2 separate regions of the Homo sapiens genome follow, and region 2 is linked to region 1. The links are contacts of gene promoters, found by promoter capture Hi-C in blood cells and fetal thymus (Javierre and others, 2016). All regions are on one chromosome and are shown on one strand. The core of a region is centred on a gene start or on the middle of the fragment in contact, and the rest is flanking DNA. Distances in the headings are between cores, read along the strand shown.

Region 1 (5,546 bases), core at 2,300-4,799:
GCAAAATATTGGAATTTTCAATTTGGACTATGCTCTTAGGCATCTCAGACTAACACAAAGTTTTCTAATTAACAGAGATGCCCTTATTTCACTGAGAAACCAAGCTAAAACTTTTAAATGGTGTCACATCTTGGTGACTTTCTAAGCCCATCAAATACCTGAGTGGCCAACGTTTTTTACGTAGCTGCGAGCAGCATCTCAAAGGATTTAGAGAAGCAACAAATAACAAAGTGTGACAGTCGATCTTGGAAAACCAGAGGGCTCTAATGAAGCAAAAAGTAGATGAAGAGGCATAAAAAAAATCCAGGTTCGTTCCAAAAAAGTTTTACAATTATAGCAAAGCAATCATTTCATCGGTTTGTGCAACAAAATTCAAAATCTGCGGGGCGAGATAATACTTGGCCAACATCGCCAAATTTATCAATACGGGTGTAAAAACTGTAACTTTTTATTAAATGGGTGTGAAAAGAGTCGGGGAGGAGGAACAGGACCACTAAATCTGGTATTTCCAGATCTCTGCATTCAACATCTCACTCCCACGCCATTAAGTTAAATAACATTTAGCACAAAACACAGGCTAGACCACCAATTTCGGGAGGGCGTCTGAGTCTTCCCTTCTCCATTCCCTTTAGATCGGCCGTCCTGGCCTTTCTTTCCTAACGGCATCTCCTTTCTAATAAAGTCCCTCGTATCTTTTGGTGTAATTAACTCATGGTACAAATCCTTCAAAAAGAAAGGAAAGAACTGCGGTTTGCTCTACGCGCGGACATCTTTTCTTCCTAAGCCTTCCCTTTCGCTGAAAAGGTTGTCGCAGAAGGGCGGGGAGGCTTGAAATCCCGCCGTTCCCTCATTCTTTCTCTTTTCTTTCTCTCCACATAACGCCTCCCCTACACCTCCCCACCTCCAATCCACTACCGTATTTAAGTCGGCGGGGGCGCTTTAAAGGGTTTCCTGTGTCTGTTTCTGTCTCTCTGACCCGAAACGCACTTTCGGTTATAGACAGACAAGGCGCTCAACCAAGGGACAGGCAAATGGAATAAACAGCTGAGGAGAATAAACGACCTAATGGGGAAATCTCGTGCTGCCTAATTGCTATTGTGTTTTGCAGATAAATAAGCATATTATTTTGATAGCGTTCAAAACCCTGAGCTCTCTTGCCCTATGCATTCTTAACAGACTTCTATGGCGCTTACTATATACCAGGCGCTGTTTTAAATGCTTTTAAAATACCACCTTCTTTGCTTAAAAAATATTTTTAACAGATTTAAAATTCCGTGTGTGCTTTCGAACTTCCCTGCTATACTCTTCTTTATACATAGTACAGCAGTTGTCTTCAAAGACAAATTGAAAAAAAACTTTAACCAGTTGCTACTTAATTGCCAGCAAATCGTTTCCCTCTGCAATTTTTCGCAATCATAATTAAATACACTAGTATAGTGGCAAAGAACTGTTAGATTTTTTTTTTTCAGTGATGATCTCAGGTTTTGCCTCAGGCGTTTGGACGCGCCCGCTAATTGCCCGTGTGGCAAACATGAGTTGCACCTGCAGGCATTTGAATTCAGAAAAACGTGCAGCCCTCACGGAAAGTTGTGACGGTCGAGCTTGAGCCTGGCGGGCCGCGGAGCGTTCACCTGCGGCCGGGAGGTACTGGCCCAGGGCGCTCGGGGCGGGAGGTGGCAGGCGACCGGCGCGCGTCAGGCTCGTCACCCGCTGGATTGCGGGGCCGGAGCGGGGACGGGGTCTGGGTCCTGGCCCGCCCTCGTGCAGCCGATCGGAGGCCCCGAACCCCGCGCCGACCCAGCCATCCGCCCTGAGGCCGACAGGGGAGCTGGGGTTCACCGACCCCCGCGGCCCCGCCGTCGGGCGCGGACCCCATCCAGCCCCACCTGGCCCCGCCGAGTGTGTGCTTTGCCTGGGGTTAAGTTTCAGAAGCCAAGATGGAACGATTCGGGTTTCTATTCACAAGGTTATTGAAGGCATGGCGGTGGGGACCGCGCAAAAGAGATGAGAGTGTGGGGGGAAAGGGGTTTCTGTTCTAATAAGGGCTTAGCACGCTGGCCGCAGGTCCTCCGCGCCGACCGGGCTCCTTCCCGCTCTCCCCCGGGCCAAACCCCGCCAGGGTCCCGTCTTTCCCAGTCGCGTCCTTTCCTCTTCTCCCCGCCCCGCGCCGGGCTTGTGTGGACAGAGAACGGAGTGTCAAAGGGACGCCCTGGGCCGATCCCCAGGAAGCTATGAATCCCTCCGTGACGGAGGGGTCTGGGGATCGATAGACGGCCCTTTCTCAGAGGCTCTCTCCACTACTGACCAAGCGGCCCTGCCAACGTGTGGTTTCCGGCTGGACCCCAACCCAGCCGCCGCCAGTCTCCCGGCGCCCCTGGCTGGGTCTCGCTCAGTCCCTGCCCTCGCAGACGCACAGCGGGGTGGCCAGTTCAAAAGTCCTACATAACTTGGAGAGAACCAGCAGCTAGAAAACCTGTTTTAAACACACAGCTTGAGTTTTATACAACCCACGTTGTCCAAGGCACGAACTGTTGGACACGAATTCATACTTTAGAAACCAAATCTAATTTCCAAGCGCCAATCTTCACCTCCCGGACTCTAACTCTGCGGCTGCGAGTGCATACACCAGGGGGACTGGAGGAGACTGGAGGCAATTATCTGGATAATCCAAGCCCGAAAAACTCGAACTTGAAAATATACGATTATGTCCTGAAATGCCCGCGTCATTGATCTAGTCTTTCCTACCATCAGAGCTGACACAGCTCCAGTCCACGGGCTTCTCCGCGGGGTCTAGGATCCACAGTCCCTGGGGGCTGAAGACCCAATGGAAGTAACTGATGGATCGCAAATTGGAAATCGTAACGTGGCCGACAGACCTGATCAGGAAAACTCGCGTCCTTATATGAAACAGCCCCGAGGCCGCGAAAGTAGCCTCAGGAGTTGTCAGATTCAAAAGCAATTTTGATTTAAGGTTTTCAAAAGCCCCAGAGGGCAAATGTGACCACTCGGGTCAGCCAGTCAGCAGTTTGGATCCAGACAGGGGACCACCGAGTGGGGCGGCCGAGGAGCCGCGGCGCCTCCCGACGTCACACGCGCCTGCTCGCACTTAGCCACGCGCTTGGGGTTATTCTTTACACTCAGGACTGAAACTTCGCCCGCGAGACCGCGGGGCGCGGAGGAGGGCCGAAACCCAAGGTCCAGGTCCAGGGCCCGCCCCCGCGCGCCCGCGTTGGCGCCCGCGCGCTCCCTCCGCAGGGGTTAGCAAGATTGCGCTCATTCTCGCCCCGGCTGCTCCCCACCCGCTCGCTGCTCTGGGGTACCAGGTCCGCGGCCGCGTTCCCACGCCTCGGCTGGAGCCTTGCGGCGGGCATTGGCGAGCGCGGCCCCGCCCCCTGGCCCAGCCAATCGCGAGCCACGCCGACCAGCGAGGGGGAGGTGCCGGGCGGAAGGCCTGGGCCGGTGCGCGGGGGCGGGTGAGGTGGCCCCACCCGCTCGAGGGGGGGGCGTGGCCGGCGCCGGCTCTTGCGGCCGAGCAGAGTTGCGGCGTGGGAAAGAGCCGCTAGGAGCAGACCGCGCCGCCGCCGGAGCCGCGCCTGCCCAGGCCCGGGGAGGGAGGAGGCGGGCGTCAGGGTGCTGCGCCCCGCTCGGCGTCCGAGCTTCCGGCCGGGCTGTGCCCCGCGCGGTCTTCGCCGGGATGAAGCGCCCCTGCGAGGAGACGACCTCCGAGAGCGACATGGACGAGACCATCGACGTGGGGAGCGAGAACAATTACTCGGGGTGAGCGCGGGCTCCGCGGGAGCGGCCCGCAGCTCGGGAGCTTGGGGTAGCTTTGTGAATGCGTGGCTCCCTGGAAATCCCGAGGCTGGTCTCCGCAGCATCTAGGTAGAGAGGGAAAGTTTGGCCTGAGAAAGTTTGAGTGGTGGGCGCTCGCAGAGCGTGAGTTGGGATGGGGCAAGGGATGTGGATTTTCACCGTAGGGGTGGAGTAGCCAGGATGGGAGACGCCACTGAAAGGCAGAGCGCAGGAGTTGGCGAGGGAGGGTCCTGGCTGTCACAGTTGGACGCGCGAACGGCAGCGTCTGGGCGACAGGCGATGTCCCAGCCACTGAAACCGTATTTGGGGGCACTTTCAAAATAGATCAGGAGAAAATAAAAACAATTTGATTTTTGATTTTTAGAGATACCAAAATCACAACTTGATTTTTGGAGGAATTAAAGCAACCTGCGATGTCAAGGCTACGTAGGTTGAACTTTGCAGGTTGACCGTGTGTGACTTGGCTAACGCAAGAGTGAGTGACAGATGTAAGCATCGGAAAGGGCATCATTTCTTTGACTGCTTGTTCTCAAGTCTGGAAGAGATCGGCGTCGTAATCACAGAAGCCAGACCTCCACTTTCCTGTGACAGAGGGAGATTACCGAGGCATTTTAGAGCCAAGGCGGGTCAAATGATAATTGCTTCTAATTGGCATCCCCAGAAGCACCTTAATTATTTATCTGCAGCTGTCACTCAAAGAGGGAAATTCTTCCTACCTTTGGAAAACTGGTTTTCTTTCATATTGTTATTCTAATACATACAAAGCAAAGCACAAAATCTGCAAGAGCAAAGATATTTACACGAAAGCAAAGGTTTAAGTATCTGATCATTAAAGTGTTGTTGTGCCGTCTTTAAAAATGAGGTCTGAAAAACAGAAGCTATCACGTGAAAGGTGAAACCCGTAAAGAAGGGGTGAAAATGAGGGGGACAGGTAATTCAGAAATAAGATCCAGAAGTGAGAAGGTGAGGTAATAGCAACCTGGTGTGTGCAGCATTTCTAAAATGAAAGAGAACAAATAACAGGAACCTGGGGAATTTGAGAACACAAAGAAGCATAGTATCCATGAATTATGAAGAGAAACAGATACAAACTAGAAAGGATTGTAAAAATTATGTGACCAAATAATACTTTGATTGAACCTTCAATATAAAAATATATTTTCATTAGTAAATCCAAGGTGCATTGCAGCTTCTGGAGATTTAAGCTTAGCCTAAAGTCTGAGACACACCTACAGTTTCATTTTCAAAGTAAAACATTCACCTAGTAATAAAATGAGTTTTAATTTTCCTATCAGTGGCATATTTAGGGCATATTTTTGGAAGATTAGTATGCAAAACATCAAGTTTGTCAATTTTTTCCTGTTGCAATATATGACTAACTGAAGTTTTGAAACAGTAAGATAACTTCTATTTATTTTAAAGTTTGCACCTAGAGACAAGAGTTTGACGTATGACGACTGCACATCTGTTTGATAGTGGTGCTTAACATAACCCTGATTTGAAAAAGTGGCATTATTTTGTTCAGTGTGCCTGACAGGAGGGAGAAGGAAAGCTATTTGAGATTAGTTGACTTTAAAATATATGAGTGGAACTAGGAAATGCTAATATCTAACTTCTCAGCCCAACTGCCGGTAATTATTTCACTGGGAGACTTTCAAGTAAAAATTGTGGGACATTTTGGCCAATGGGTTAGCATCTGGATTACAAATTAAGGCGTAATTTTTACCTGAAAA
Region 2 (4,824 bases), core at 18-2,517, 260 kb before region 1:
AACACGGTGAAACCCTATCTCTACTAAAATACAAAAAATTAGCCGCTCATGGCCGCGTGGGCCTGTAATCTCAGCTACTCAGGAGGCTGAGGCAGGAGAATTGCTAGAACCTGGGAAGTGGAGGTTGCAGTGAGCCGAGATTGTGCCACTGCACTCCAGCTTGGGCAACAGAGAGAGACTCCGTCTCAAAAAATAAAAAAATTAAAAAAAGAGCAACTTTTACACAGAGCAGGGAGGTTCTAGGAAGAAGAAAAAATAAGGAAAGGACCATTCCCGGTACAGAGACTGCTGGATGAAGCCTGGGAATGGCTTAGGTGAAATTGCACTGTCTGGTCAGGAGAACAAGATGAGGCGAATGCTGAGGAGAGAGGTGCAGGCAAAATGAAGGGAATCAGAATGAAGGCAAGAGATTCACTACGGACTCCAGGGATCAGATAAGGACCCCCTTATCAGGGCCTCAGCAGCCTGGCAGAGATAGAGGAGACACGCAGAAAGCTGCAGCAGATTCCAAAGGGTGAGATTACCTGGTGCTGGTGGGAGGGTGCTGGCTTCCTCCATCACGTGGTCACCAGAGTCTGAGTTGGAAGAACATGGCCATTGAGAAGGAAGTGGCCATGGTCTAGTCTGGAAGCAAGTGACTCAGAAAATAAATCCCTTTATCCACAAAGTGCCATTCCTTTGAATGAAAAGGACAAAAATCAAATCCACACTAAGACCAGTTTACCATTTAGTCCAGATTTCCAGGCAGCGACTCTAAGCACAGAAGAGGGGCAAAAGCAGAGGGATGGAAGGACAGTGTGTTTATGGAGGACAAAGGACACTTTCTGAAGAGGGTGAGGTTCAGTGGTAGAAAGTGGCATAAATATATTCACTGCTATATATTAATCTTCTATGTTCCTTGCAATATTTGATGTTCATTCTGATGAATAAAAGATATTCAAAATTCATTTTCCAAAACATCATTATTAACAAACCCCATTTCTTTATTCTGTGTCTTTATGAAAGCTCATGGGTTCAGTCTGCCCCACATTTGCACTTGTTTCCATACTATTTGGTAGTGCTGGCAAACAGTATATACTCAAAGAATAGCAAAGGTTGTTTTTTAAATGTAGGCTTTCTCTCCAGATAAATTTCAAGCTTCTTAAAAGTAAGTTTCAAGTTTATGCTACATAAAAATACTCCAGCAAAATACTAAACCTTGTCTTCCGCAAACAGGGTGGTTGGTTGAAAATTTGAAAAAGAAATATTGTGACTCTGACGATCTTTGTAGACTCCAACAATATTCAGGCAGAAAGTGAACCCATTACATTTCTTGACTGAATGGATTATTGGTTTCTGAAAGAAGTTATTTTAAAACTCCTCTAGATTTTTAAGCTCCCAGGAATTGGGTCTCTGGCGAAGCTTGTAGGGGTGTGGTGATGTTTGATACTATTCATCCCAATGATGATTTTCCTTTCCTCTCATACTTCATCATAACAGTAGTCCACCTGAGATAGCTTTTCATCTGACCGCGTGACCTGCTAATAAACACAAGCATTTTTGCCTCAATAAACTCAATTTTTAACAACTGCATCCTATTTAGAATATACAGAATTTGACTCTCAGTCTTTGTCACATGATGAATCCCTCTCTGTGACCTTCTGAGGACTCTATTAAATCTTTGTGAGCCTCACCACAATGGTTTGGTTCAGTATTCCTCTACCACTGAATACATTAAAAACAAAACAAAACACTGTCATACGTGGAGGAGTTCATAAAATCCAGCCTGAGAAATGCAGTCAGCAATCTGTCCAAGTCACGTCCTGGACTTTTTGTTTTACGGGCTTTCTCAGAATATTGGCTTACTGTTAATAGAGAAACTGTACATAAAATCCAAAAAGGAAGGGGTCAGTTAGCCTATGGGAGACCAGAATCTAGAATGCTGCCCACACCTCTGTGAAACACCAAGTTTGCTAAATCTGCTATTGTCAACTCGGATCATATGGCTGATAAAAATCACAGGGCTATAAAGTGCATACTCAGCACTTTGGAGTGACTGCTAAATAGGCCTATAAAGGCACTTTTTTGCTTTTTGCATGAACTTCAAATGCAAAGGCACCTAAAAGCAGTCATTAGTAAACATATTCTTTTGCCCTCCAGGCCATTCACAATTTTAATTTTTTTAACGATAATGAAAGAATTCGAAGTGTTGTGTAAGAATAGTTATCCTATGTGAGACTACAGAATAGAAAGCAAGCAATATTTTTCTTTCTTTTTGTTCAGAATTATCTGAACATTACTCAGCATTATTAACTATATTTTTCAAGCAAGATTATATAGTTCTAGGATTGGAACTAAAGAAAAGTTCTTAAAGGAAATTGATACTCAGAGAACTTAAAATGATCTGTTCAACGTCCCACAGCCAGTGAGAAATAGATCTGGAATCAGGATCCTGTTCTCTCACTTCTAAACCCAGCATTTATACCATGCCAAGCAGCCCAGCTTCAAATAGCAAAGGAATTATAGTGGTCCCAGATAATCTGGACTTTCAAACACCCAAACCTATACACCACCCCCTGCCTCTCCACTTGTTCTTCTTTCAAACATCTCCTACCTTTTTCAAAACACCTCATGTTCTAAGGTAACCACATAGAATCCAAGCAGTTTCAGCACATTTCATCCGTCCAGCTAAAAACGTGACATCTTACGCAACTACAGTATAAAATCACAGATATCCCAAAGGCAAAAAATATTAAAGAAATGTTGTGAACCTCCTGATATACATAAGTACCCCTCTCCAACACAGGCCCAAGGCAGAAGCAAGAGGTGAAAAACATGTGCAAGATAAAAGCCAGCAGCATGATGGATAGAGGGTGCTATGGGAGAATGGAAGAGGGGTCCTAGAGTGGGGTCGTGGAAAGCTTGAATAGATCCAAAGGAAGAGTAAGAGTCAGCGAGGCTGGGTTGCAGGAAGCACCCCTGTCACAACAACCAGGTTTGACTTTTGTGCCACTACTAGCTAGCTAGTAAGAAGCCTTGGGCAAGTCACACAATCCCTTGAACTTCAGTGTCCTTATCTAAAATGACCATATCAATAATAACTACCCAAAAGGTTTTATGAAGTTTAAATGAACACATGATGTAATATTCTTAAGAAAACATCAGGCATATAGCAAATATTCCATAAATTTTAATTATGATGCAAATAATGATGGAATCATAAGTTCAAATAATCAAAGGTAAAAAGAGCATAGTACATTCCCGAATGTTCTCAGAAAAGCAAAGAGTTTAGAATGGTGAAAGTAGAGAGGATGATTTTAATTAAACAGAACTGTATTCACTTCTCCAGCTGTAGTGTAGGCAAGAAATTGCACATCACTCCAACTAAGAGAGCAGAATACCCATTATAGCTTGTTTCACTTGTCTTCACCTTTAAGGCACTCAAGGCAGCTCTCCCTCAAACAGGTGGTGATGGGTTGATGGCAGCCTCCATTAGAAGGCATGTGTAGATTTAGGGTATTCAGCCTTAGAAAGAGGAGGAAAGAATGTTAGGTGCTGAGAGTAAAGTGAAGCCCAGGAGTGTCTGTGGGTCTAGGGATGAGGAAAGGCTTCCAGATCTGGGTTTGATAACAGAGCAGTCCTCCTGCAGGTTTATGGCCTAGAAAGTTCCAGGGCCACTGGCCCACAAGAACATCCTTGAGAGGCACTGCTTTAATGATCTGAAGTTGTAGGGCTCAGAAAACCAACCGCAGCATGTGGTCTGGGGATGACCCGCCTGAATGGACTGACCACAGGCAAGTGGAACTTCCAACCCTGCCTGTATCTCAGGCCTTGGGACCATCACGTAAGTGGGATCTTGGGTCCACTGGGGCTTCGAGTCCCCAGATACCAATGAAAAGACTGTTCAATAAAACTGATAATAATTACCTGTGGCATTGGGGTGTCAATTTGTTTACAAGAGCTGGTTTTGCTTCTAACACAGGTAAGTGAGCACTTTATAAACAAAGACAATATCACTTTCTTCCATCTGTCACAGTAAACCTCAGGCAGAATTTTCCCTAGAAGGCAAACATTTTACCCTCAATGATCTCAGGCCATGTGGATCGTCCTTTGGCAAGACAGAATAACTAGTCTGAATTGTTTAAGTCAGCATCCTGTCTTTTGAAATCAACAAGAATCCTAAGTTCTGAAAAAGCTATCTGTGTGAGAAATACCAGAACAAAATGTGACTGGTGTGCTGTTTCGCCCTTTCTCAATCTTGTGCAAGGAAGATACCTGAAACCCTCTGGAATCCATGGGTGGCAGGCAGAGCACTTTTACTGAGAGCCCATCTCCACTAACATTCCAGTTGATGGGGAATTTAGAAACACTCCTCCCTCCCATTCCTCCCTTCACTCCTCTCGCTTCCATATCTCTTATAAACTTGTCTGGATTTCCCAATCCTAATTTATCTGGAACTTAAGATAGACTCCCTACCTCCACTTGCCCCTGTAGAAGAATTTTGGTGCTTGCTGGCCTGCAGGTATTATATTGAACCACATTCATTTAATGAACAGGATGTATTCACGTTGCAAACCAGTGCATTATATAAAAGCCTTTATTAATCACTCTATGGTGCCATAAAATGACAGGCGTTCGGTTCCCAAAAGCAAATAATGCAAACCAAGAACCTTAATATAATGGTGGATATAAAATTATAATAGCCAAGTGGCAAGTCCTTGGTGCATTTAGAGGATCACAAGAGGATAAAAAGAGCTTCTGGTGCCTAATTGTGTTTAAATTTTTATTTATGGTGATATTAAGCAGTTCTCTAAGAGCTCCAGCCATTTAAATTATGGTGATTCT

Evidence for each region. The method cuts DNA at HindIII sites, captures the fragments that hold promoters and counts their contacts. A CHiCAGO score of 5 or more calls a contact.
Region 2: a contact is called between a fragment that was not itself captured here and the fragment with the promoter of HEY2 in region 1, in 2 of 17 cell types (erythroblasts and megakaryocytes). The highest score is 6.0, in erythroblasts.

The regions. Positions count from the first base shown.
Region 1 is chr6:125,746,083-125,751,628 of GRCh38, forward strand. It overlaps HEY2 (hes related family bHLH transcription factor with YRPW motif 2), which reads left to right and starts at 3,550. Exons shown (of 5, transcript NM_012259.3): 1 at 3,550-3,777. The coding sequence starts at 3,695. It overlaps HEY2-AS1 (HEY2 antisense RNA 1), which reads right to left and starts at 3,343. Exons shown (of 5, transcript NR_183491.1): 1 at 2,877-3,343. RefSeq lists silencers at 1,705-1,884, 3,059-3,768. The HindIII fragment of the contact is 5,509 bases long and covers 1-5,016 here.
Region 2 is chr6:125,490,400-125,495,223 of GRCh38, forward strand. No RefSeq gene overlaps it. Among named protein-coding and RNA genes, the nearest start is that of LINC02523, 180 kb to the right of the region's middle. The HindIII fragment of the contact is 264 bases long and covers 1,136-1,399 here.